Linked DNA regions of Homo sapiens: regions 2 and 3 are each linked to region 1. Evidence: promoter capture Hi-C in 16 types of primary human blood cells and fetal thymus (Javierre and others, 2016). All regions are on one chromosome and are shown on one strand. The core of a region is centred on a gene start or on the middle of the fragment in contact, and the rest is flanking DNA. Distances in the headings are between cores, read along the strand shown.

Region 1 (3,015 bases), core at 144-2,643:
CCAAGATTGCACCACTGCACTCCAGCCTGGGCGGCAGAGAAAGACTTCATCTAAAAAAAAAAAAAGAAAATAAATTTCTAAAACTCTGTATTTCTTTGCTCTTTTAAGTTGACATCTATAACTTTCTATTACTTTAAATACCTGGAAAAAAAATCACTTCCAGTGCATTGTAATAATGTATCAAGTAGAAGTGGCTAAAATCAGTGAAAACATTTCTTTGATCTGAATAAATGTTCAAGAAAATAGAAAACATGAACTTACCTCCAATCTATGTTCCCTTTACTTGAAAATGTAATGTTGATCTACTAGAGGTAAGGCAGGAATTGTCACATCCATATTCCTTGCAACTATTCAAAATATGCATCTGAGACCAGAACAAGACACAGGTGAAGAAGGGTGCTCACTAGGCCCCTTCTGCCAATACAGAAGGAGACAGTGCAGTGGAGTCCTTTCATAGCAAGTTCTGCCTTCATGATTTCCAAAGCTTCAGTATTCCAAATCTCAGGTGAATAGGGTGGTATCCACTAAGCTCTGCCACAAACTTGTTGCTGAGATGAAGGAAGCCGCCGCTGTAGTCAGTATTTCTCACCCACACGGTTTGCTCTCTTTCTGGCTGGTGTGGGAAGGATGGCGTCTTTTTTTTTTTTTTTTTTTTGAGATGGAGTCTTGCTCTGTTACCCAAGCTGGATTGTAGTGTTGTGATCTCGGCTCACTGCAACCCATGCAAGGTGCTGTCAGGTTCCACCTGTGCAAACAAGTACACTGGTCCAGCATGGGTCAGCTGCTCACTCACAGGGGCTCCAGAATCCTACAAAGGGACACACAGGGGTGGGTGGCAACCTAGTTGGAAATGGGAGTGATGGGCATGACTAAAGTCTTCCTCATCCCACCAGAGGCGCACTCAACTGTGGCTAGGGTGACCAGAATTCACTGTCCAGCGTGGCTGGCAGGAGCCCACTCTCTGAAGATGGTGGGATTCAGAGGTGGGAGTAGAGTTGGGTGGTCCTGTGAGCTGAGCACTCTCCCAAAAGTGTCCCCTACATATGAGGTTGACAGCTTATTCCTGCAGGGACTCAGGAGTAACTCTGGGTGCTAAAACAAAACTTGAGACCAGCACAGAAACAGCCAGCCCATGAAGCTGGCCTCCCATCACACAGCAAGGCTAGCCAGATGCCCCTCACTCTTCTCGGGCACCATTCTTCTCCTCCCCTAGGCCGCCTGGTGCTCGTGGTGTTTCATGTTTGTTAGTCCATGCACGGTGGTGAGGGAGGCTGCTGTGTGATTTGCCCCAGCCACAGCCTCTACAAAAGCAACTAGAAGAAGACGGCAGCAGAGGGCGCTTCTTCAAACACCCTGTCCAACTCCTGGCACTGACAAGTACTGAGTGAACTCAAACCCTCTGTAAAGTAACAGAAGTTAGAAGGGGAAATGTCGCCTCTCTGAAGATTACCCAAAGAAAAAGTGATTTGTCATTGCTTTATAGACTGTAAGAAGAGAACATCTCAGAAGTGGAGTCTTACCCTGAAATCAAAGGATTTAAAGAAAAAGTGGAATTTTTCTTCAGCAAGTAAGTACATTTACTATTATCTTACTATGGGATAGCTTGGTAGAACTAGTTACCAGCAACCTCACTGCTTTTTAAACAAACAATACCTCTGCTACCACCTCCTGGATCCAGGCTTGCCCTCAAAGGAACCCTTAGGGTCTCATTCCCACAGGAGGCTGTGGCTTCCCGACATATTTGGAGCATCATAGTGAGAATTGTGGCCCATTATTTTAAAATATCCTAGATCCTAGCAAATATTGTTTTTGTGGGCCGTATTTGAATTTCTCAAGCCAGTAAAATTCTAGTGAAAGTGGGAAAATCGCTTGAGCTCGGGAGGTTGAGACTGTGGTGAGCTATGGTCACGCCACTGCACTCTAGCCTGTGTGACAGAGCAAGATTCTATCTTAAGAAAAACAAATTCTGGTGAATAAGTCTCTTTTAACTAATCCTGTCTAAAATGGATGATGGCTAATAAAACAATATGGCGTGGCTGGAACTCTAGCTCTAGGGTGGTCTCCAAAGAGGACACTCAAGCATTCTCTGAGCAGCACGGGGCTGTGTCCTGGTAGCAGCCTGAAGGGGTGACAGTGGAGCACAGTGTTTATTTTCATTTCTCAATTTTGACATATTTACTGGAAAAATTAATCCCTAGCCACCTCACATGACAGTACATAATTTTTTTTTTTTTTTTTTTTGAGATGGAGTCTCACTCTGTCGCCTAGGCTGGAGTGCAGTGTTGCAATCATCTTGGCTCACTGCAGCCTCCACCTCCTGGATTCAAGCAATTCTCGTGCCTCAGCCTCCCAAGTGGCTGGGATTACAGGCACCCACCACCACACCTGGCTAATTTTTGTATTTTTGGTAGAAATGGGGTTTTGCCATGTTGGCCAGGCTGGTCTGGAACTCCTGGCCTCAAGTAATCCGCCCACCTCAGCCTCCCAAAGTGCTGGGATTACAGGCGTGAGCCACCACGCCTGGCCCTGGAGTACATAATTTTGATAAGTAACGTCTGCAGTGTCTTTTTTTCCCTCCCTTTTTATGGATAGACTTTTCTGGTTATTGAGATCTCATACCCCTTTATGATATATTATTTGAGTAGAGGGTTTAAAGAATTGAGATACTTGTTTTCTTATGTTAATATGTCAAGAAAGAAGTTGTTTCATAACTTAGGTCCTGCCTTGGACAAAATACACCCTTACTGTCTGCTCTATGTTTCTTGGTATGTTCAGAAGAGGATTTGAACTTTTGCAGGTTGGCTAACAGATATGGAGGGTCCTTAGAGCTCTCCTGTTTCTAACCAAATCTTCACCCCACCTATTAAGTAGAAAGCCTTTTCATGGAAGGGCTGTGGTTGGTTCTTGGAACTGGTCCCCTCACAGAATTTCCATTCGCTTTTCCTCAGGGTCACGCCCTGCTTTAGAGGTTGCTTAGGTTAAGCTCTCCAATTAATTTTAGCAGGCAACTCGAGA
Region 2 (2,753 bases), core at 133-2,632, 320 kb after region 1:
AAAAGCCTTTTGTGATACACTGAGTACAACCAACCTTTCACAATCTAGAACTCAGAGATTGAGTCTTCTGGAAATAACATCCCATCTGAGAAAAACTGCTCTTGTATCCCATTAGAAGAGATTATATCATGTACTTCTCTCACCACCCACAGTAAAACTTCAGGGCCTCGAGTTTTGGTCCATACCTTGTAACTCAAAAGAGCCCCTTCAAACTCTTGGAATTATACACCTGTTGGAGATCTTAAGGTAGGGAAGTTTCTCCCCAGAAGCAGATGGCATCCTAGACATGGACAGCTTTCTCAAGATCATGGATCAAGACTTCTCTGCTATCATGACTATCTTATCTTTTTTTCTATTTTTTCCATATTTCCTGCTGGGAAATCCATGGGACCATAATTTATAGATGGCTTTAGCTAAGGCTCATGCTCTAACAAGAAAAACTAGAGCAACTGTTGGGTTTCTGGACTGATGCCAAAAAAAAAACCCCTAGGAAACAATTTTATTAATGCCAATGCCTCTCTGTGAAATGAAAGCCACCCTAAAACCTCAAAAGCAGATTGGAAAGCTATCTTTAATTTTGTAGATATCACTGCTACTTGCTTTCCTACACTTACTGAAAGCAATAACCCAACTTCTCCAATTAATAACCTACCAGCTACCAAATATAGAAAAGCTGAGTGATTCTTTTTTTTTTTTTTTTTTAGATTAACTTGCTTGGCTCCTTTATTATTCTCCTTTATTATTAAACTTCCTCAGCATAATGTGATTTGGGCAGACAGAGATGTTATCCTGTGGCTTATTGTTGGCCTACATTCTCTTTTTTTTTTTTAAATTTATTTTTTTTTTAGTATTTATTGATCATTCTTGGGTGTTTCTCGGAGAGGGGGATTTGGCAGGGTCATAGGACAATAGTGGAGGGAAGGTCAGCAGATAAACATGTGAACAAAGGTCTCTGGTTTTCCTAGGCAGAGGGCCCTGCCGCCTTCCGCAGTGTTTGTGTCCCTGGGTAGTTGAGATTAGGGAGTGGTGATGACTCTTAGCGAGCACGCTGCCTTCAAGCATCTGTTTAACAAAGCACATCTTGCACTGCCCTTAATCCATTTAACCCTTAGTGGACACAGCACATGTTTCAGAGAGCAGGGGGTTGGGGGTAAGGTTATAGATTAACAGCATCCCAAGGCAGAAGAATTTTTCCTAGTACAGAACAAAATGGAGTCTCCTATGTCAACTTCTTTCTACACAGACACAATAACAATCTGATCTCTCTTTCTTTTCCCCACATTTCCCCCTTTTCTATTGGACAAAACCGCCATCGTCATCATGGCCCGTTCTCAATGAGCTGTTGGGTACACCTCCCAGACAGGGTGGTGGCCGGGCAGAGGGGCTCCTCACTTCCCAGACGGGGCTGCCGGGCAGAGGGGCCCCCCACCTCCCAGACGGGGCGGCGGCCGGGCAGAGGGGCCCCCACCTCCCAGACGGGGCGGCGGCTGGGCAGAGGCGCCCCCCACCTCCCGGACGGGGCGGCTGGCCGGGCGGGGGCTGCCCCCCACTTGCCGGGCGGGGCGGCTGGCCAGGCGGGGGCTGCCCCCCCACCTCCCGGGCGGGGCGGCTGGCTGGGCGGCTGCCCCCCACCTCCCGGACCAGGCAGCTGCCCGGCGGAGGGGCTCCTCACTTCTCAGACAGGGCGGCCAGTCAGAGACGCTCCTCACCTCCCAGACGGGGTGGCGGCGGGGCAGAGACACTCCTCAGTTCCTAGACGGGTCGCCGCCGGGCAGAGGCATTCTTCACCTCTCAGACGGGGTGGTGGGGCAGAGGCGCTCCCCACATCCCAGATGATGGGCGGCCAGGCAGAGACGCTCCTCACTTCCTAGACGGGGTGGCGGCCGGGAAGAAGCGCTCCTCACTTTCCAGACTGGGCGGCTGGGCAGAGGGGCTCCCCACATCCCAGATGATGGGCGGCCAGGCAGAGACGCTCCTCACTTCCTATACGGCGTGGCAGCAGGGCAGAGGCTGCAATCTCGGCACTTTGGGAGGCCAAGGCAGGCGGCTGGGAGGTGGAGGTTGTAGCGATCCGAGATCAAGCCACTGCACTCCAGCCTGGGCAACATTGAGCACTGAGTGAGCGAGACTCCGTCTGCAATCCCGGCACCTCGGGAGGCCGAGGCTGGCAGACCACTCGCGGTCAGGAGCTGGAGACCAGCCCGGCCAACTCGGCGAAACCCCGTCTCCACCAAAAAATACGAAAACCAGTCAGGTGTGGCGGTGCGCGCCTGCAATCCCAGGCACTCGGCAGGCTGAGGCAGGGGAATCAGGCAGGGAGGCTGCCGTGAGCCGAGATGGCGGCAGTACAGTCCAGCCTCGGCTCGGCATCAGAGGGAGACCATGCAAAGGGGAGACGAGGACCGTGCAAAGGGGGGAGGGAGATGGGGAGGGAGACAGAGAGGGGGAGGGGGAGGGGAAAAGCTGAGTGATTCTTGCAAAAGGTATATATTATGCTTCCAGGCATCATATGCTCAAGACCTGGGGACTATGTGGGTATAAGTAACTGATTGTATAACGCCACTGGATGAAATCCAGTAATGTCCTTTTTCACTAAATGTGGTTATACACCCTTACAGCATGTTACAAAGGGAACACAAAAAAATAAGTTTCACACTGGACCTTGTTCAGGAGCAGTGTTGACCTATTTCACTGACCTATCCTCAACTGCCACTAGGTGGCCCTCTTTTCCAGCTTCCAAGGGCCTACATTGG
Region 3 (2,903 bases), core at 380-2,879, 410 kb after region 1:
GTAGTAGAGAAGGCAATAATTCTCTTTTATTTCCCATCCTTCTCTTGCCCTTCCTGAAATTATGGGTCACACATACCACAACATGTGGGTTTATTCTTTATCCTTGATGCAACATGTGCCCTTCCGTTGTACCCCTATTTTTACTCTCCAGGCCCCGTCTAGATCTCTGATCTCCCAGGTAGGTATCAAATGCCCATTTAACTTACAGATTTGGTTACTATGGCTTGAGTTTTTTCTTGACTGCTGGTATAGTTCAATTTGGATGAGATGGAGGGGAGTCTTGGGAAAAGAGCTTGGTCTTTTGCTTGGAAGTTACTGGTGAATCTGGCATCAACTGGGTTGTAGGGTGGGATAGTGGTTGCATTCTGAGTTTCCATTTCAACTGAAGGCTTGGAATTGAGGTCTACTTGGCTATCCTCAAATTTGCAGGGTTGTACTCTGTAGTCAGCCTCTTTGTCCTCTTTGCTGTTGCCTAACTGGGGAAATATTCTGTCTTCAGACTGGCCACGTGTTTCATAGTAAGACAGCTGGTCTTTATGATTAGCTTGTCTGTCTGCTAAGTGGTCAGTCTGGTCAGATTCAGTGTAGTGAGCATTGTCAACTGGAGGTTGATCAGCATTACTATGAGCTTGGTCAATAGCCTGGTGTTCAGCTAGTTCAGTGGCTTGGCCGTACACTTGGTGGTGAGTCTTTACAGATGTTTTGTGGTCAACGAGGCCATACAATCTGAGGTCAGTCTGCTCAGAAGTTCCTGGGTCAGCCAGGCCAGCCAATCTGTAGTCAGTCTTCTCAGAACTTCTTCTCCTAACTTTCCCTGACATTCTGCGGTCAATCTGTACGGAAGGTCTTTGGTCAGATGGTACGGACGATCCACTGTCAATCTGTACAGAAGGACTTTGGTCAGATGGGACGGATGACCCACTGTCAATCTGCACAGAAGGTCTTCTCTCAGATAGTTTGGATAATCTGTGTGTAATCTGCTCAGAAGTTCTTCGCTCAGCCTCGCCAGACATTCTGCGGTCCATCTGCTCGGAAGCTCTTCTCTCAGACTGGCCTGCCATTCTGTGGTCGGTCTGTCTGGAACCTCTCTGGTCAGATGGCATAGCCAGTCTACCATCAATCTGCCCAGAAGTTCTTCTCTCAGCCTGGGTAGGTAATCTTCGTTCAGTCTGTTCAGCAGTTCTTTCCTCCGTCAGGCCAGACACCTGACCATCACTCTGTTCATGCTGTACATTATTAGCTTGGCTAGATGCCTTGCCTTTAGTCTGTTCAGACGGTGTTTGATTAACCTGATCATCTGCTCTAAGGTCAGAAACATCAGCAGGGTTGGATGCTCTGCGGCCAGCCTGACCAGGTGTACTATGCCCATTTTGTTCAGCTACTCCGTTGGTAGCTTGGCTAAATATGCTGGATTCAGCCTGGCTAGGCACTCTTAGGGCAGTCTGGTCAGCTATTCTGTGAGCAGTGTGGTTATCTGCCTTCCTTTCGGCCTGGTTCTTCTGGTCGTCTTCTTCCTGGCCCTTAGTGTGGCCAGCACTTGAGGGAGCGGCTGGGCTTTCATGTTTCAAGGGTTCAGCCAGAGCCTCTTGCGGAGGCTCTTCCATTTCCTGCCGCGTCCCTGACTGGTCTAGGTTGCCAGGCACTGTGGGTGGGGTTGGGCTGGGTCGTCTAGGCGACCCTCCAGGAACGCCCCATGATTCCCACGGGCTTTGTTCGGGTCACTGCGTGCGTCAGGGAGAGTGGCCGTCCCGCTGTTGTAAGTGGAGGGACGGCAGTCAGCTGACCCTGCAGTGTGCAGGCGAGCGCAGGGAGTACGCCATGTCCTGAGAAGGGGCGATTCTCAGGCTCTGGCAGTTACAGCTTCTCCTCACCCTGCCGAGCAACCAGGCCACGGGGCTCCGTGCATCGCCACCTAGAGTGTTACCCTCTTCCTTGTTCACAGAGGTTCTCCGCAGTGTGTGAGAAAGAGGCCCTCTCTCAGGTACTGCTCCTCTGATTAACATCCCCCACCGCACCTCCAAATGTCAACAGATGAACACACAACCAGCTGCACGAGGACCACAAAACTGAACAGAGGTTGTTGCTATTGCCATCCCCTTTGGGTATAGCTGTCTTGGCAGTGGAAACTCCTGCCCCAAGGTGTTTTCTTGCTGGATTAGACATGTGATCTGTGGCGGGAGAGCCAGAGAGAGGAGAGAAGATCCAGTGAGAATGGGTTCTAAAACTGCACCATCTAGTGGTCTTACAGCAGAGAGGCGAGTTAGAAGGAGGCCAAATCAGAGTTCCAGAAAGGAAGGGAGTAAGGAAAGTGGGAGAAAGATACCAGAAGGAATATTTAGCAAGTGGAGAATTTGTATTTGATAGTGTTGGCCAGTGGGGCCCAGTTTTTGAGATTTGGTCCTCCCACTTTGCAATCAACCTTAAGAATGCACCTCAGAGTCAGTAGGCTGTCTACTTTCAGGAGTAGGCCAGTACAGAGGTGGTGATTGATGAGACAAATTACTTTGACCTTGCAAAGCCTGAAATCACTGAGGCAGGCCAAGGGTTGGTAGTGTGATGCCAGATATTCCTTTAGTAGGGATTTAACTGCATTAAACAATTAGAAATGAGACTTAAAATCCAAATTCAAATACTTGTGACAAAGGAGAGTGGATACACTTGACACCATACTTAGGAATGGAAAGGGGAATCTAAGCACACTGAAGTAAAGTCATTTATGTAACAGTGCCTAGAACATAATAGGTGCTCAAGAAGTGCTTGTTGAATGTCACTTTATGAATTATCTACCTTATTTATTTAAAAATGCATGACACCATTGGATACTGTGTTTAGAGTAAAATAGGTCTTGGGCTATGGCTTGTAGCTTCAAAGTGCTATTGGTTTTGGAGATTTATTTTTCCATT

What was found. Contacts are between HindIII fragments. The CHiCAGO score rates a contact against its expected background, and 5 or more counts as called.
Region 2: a contact is called between a fragment that was not itself captured here and the fragment with the promoter of CD80 in region 1, in 2 of 17 cell types (total B cells and megakaryocytes). The highest score is 6.9, in total B cells.
Region 3: a contact is called between the fragment with the promoter of TEX55 here and the fragment with the promoter of CD80 in region 1, in 7 of 17 cell types (naive CD8 T cells, activated CD4 T cells, erythroblasts and 4 more). The highest score is 12.7, in naive CD8 T cells.

The regions. Positions count from the first base shown.
Region 1 is chr3:119,557,992-119,561,006 of GRCh38, reverse strand. CD80 (CD80 molecule) reads left to right here and starts at 1,393. Exons shown (of 7, transcript NM_005191.4): 1 at 1,393-1,567. LOC107986118 (a long non-coding RNA gene) reads right to left here and starts at 577. Exons shown (of 2, transcript XR_001740861.2): 1 at 262-577. RefSeq lists enhancers at 1,120-1,169, 1,940-1,999, 2,270-2,429, 2,791-3,015 and a silencer at 2,791-3,015. The HindIII fragment of the contact is 26,007 bases long and covers 487-3,015 here.
Region 2 is chr3:119,241,626-119,244,378 of GRCh38, reverse strand. The region is part of intron 3 of B4GALT4-AS1 (B4GALT4 antisense RNA 1); the gene reads right to left. Among named protein-coding and RNA genes, the nearest start is that of B4GALT4, 2.1 kb to the right of the region's middle. RefSeq lists a silencer at 2,635-2,684. The HindIII fragment of the contact is 2,833 bases long and covers 1-2,753 here.
Region 3 is chr3:119,144,891-119,147,793 of GRCh38, reverse strand. TEX55 (testis expressed 55) reads right to left here and starts at 1,629. Exons shown (of 3, transcript NM_152539.3): 1 at 207-1,629. The coding sequence starts at 1,604. It also overlaps a transcript of IGSF11 not described here. RefSeq lists a silencer at 2,078-2,372. The HindIII fragment of the contact is 11,642 bases long and covers 1-2,903 here.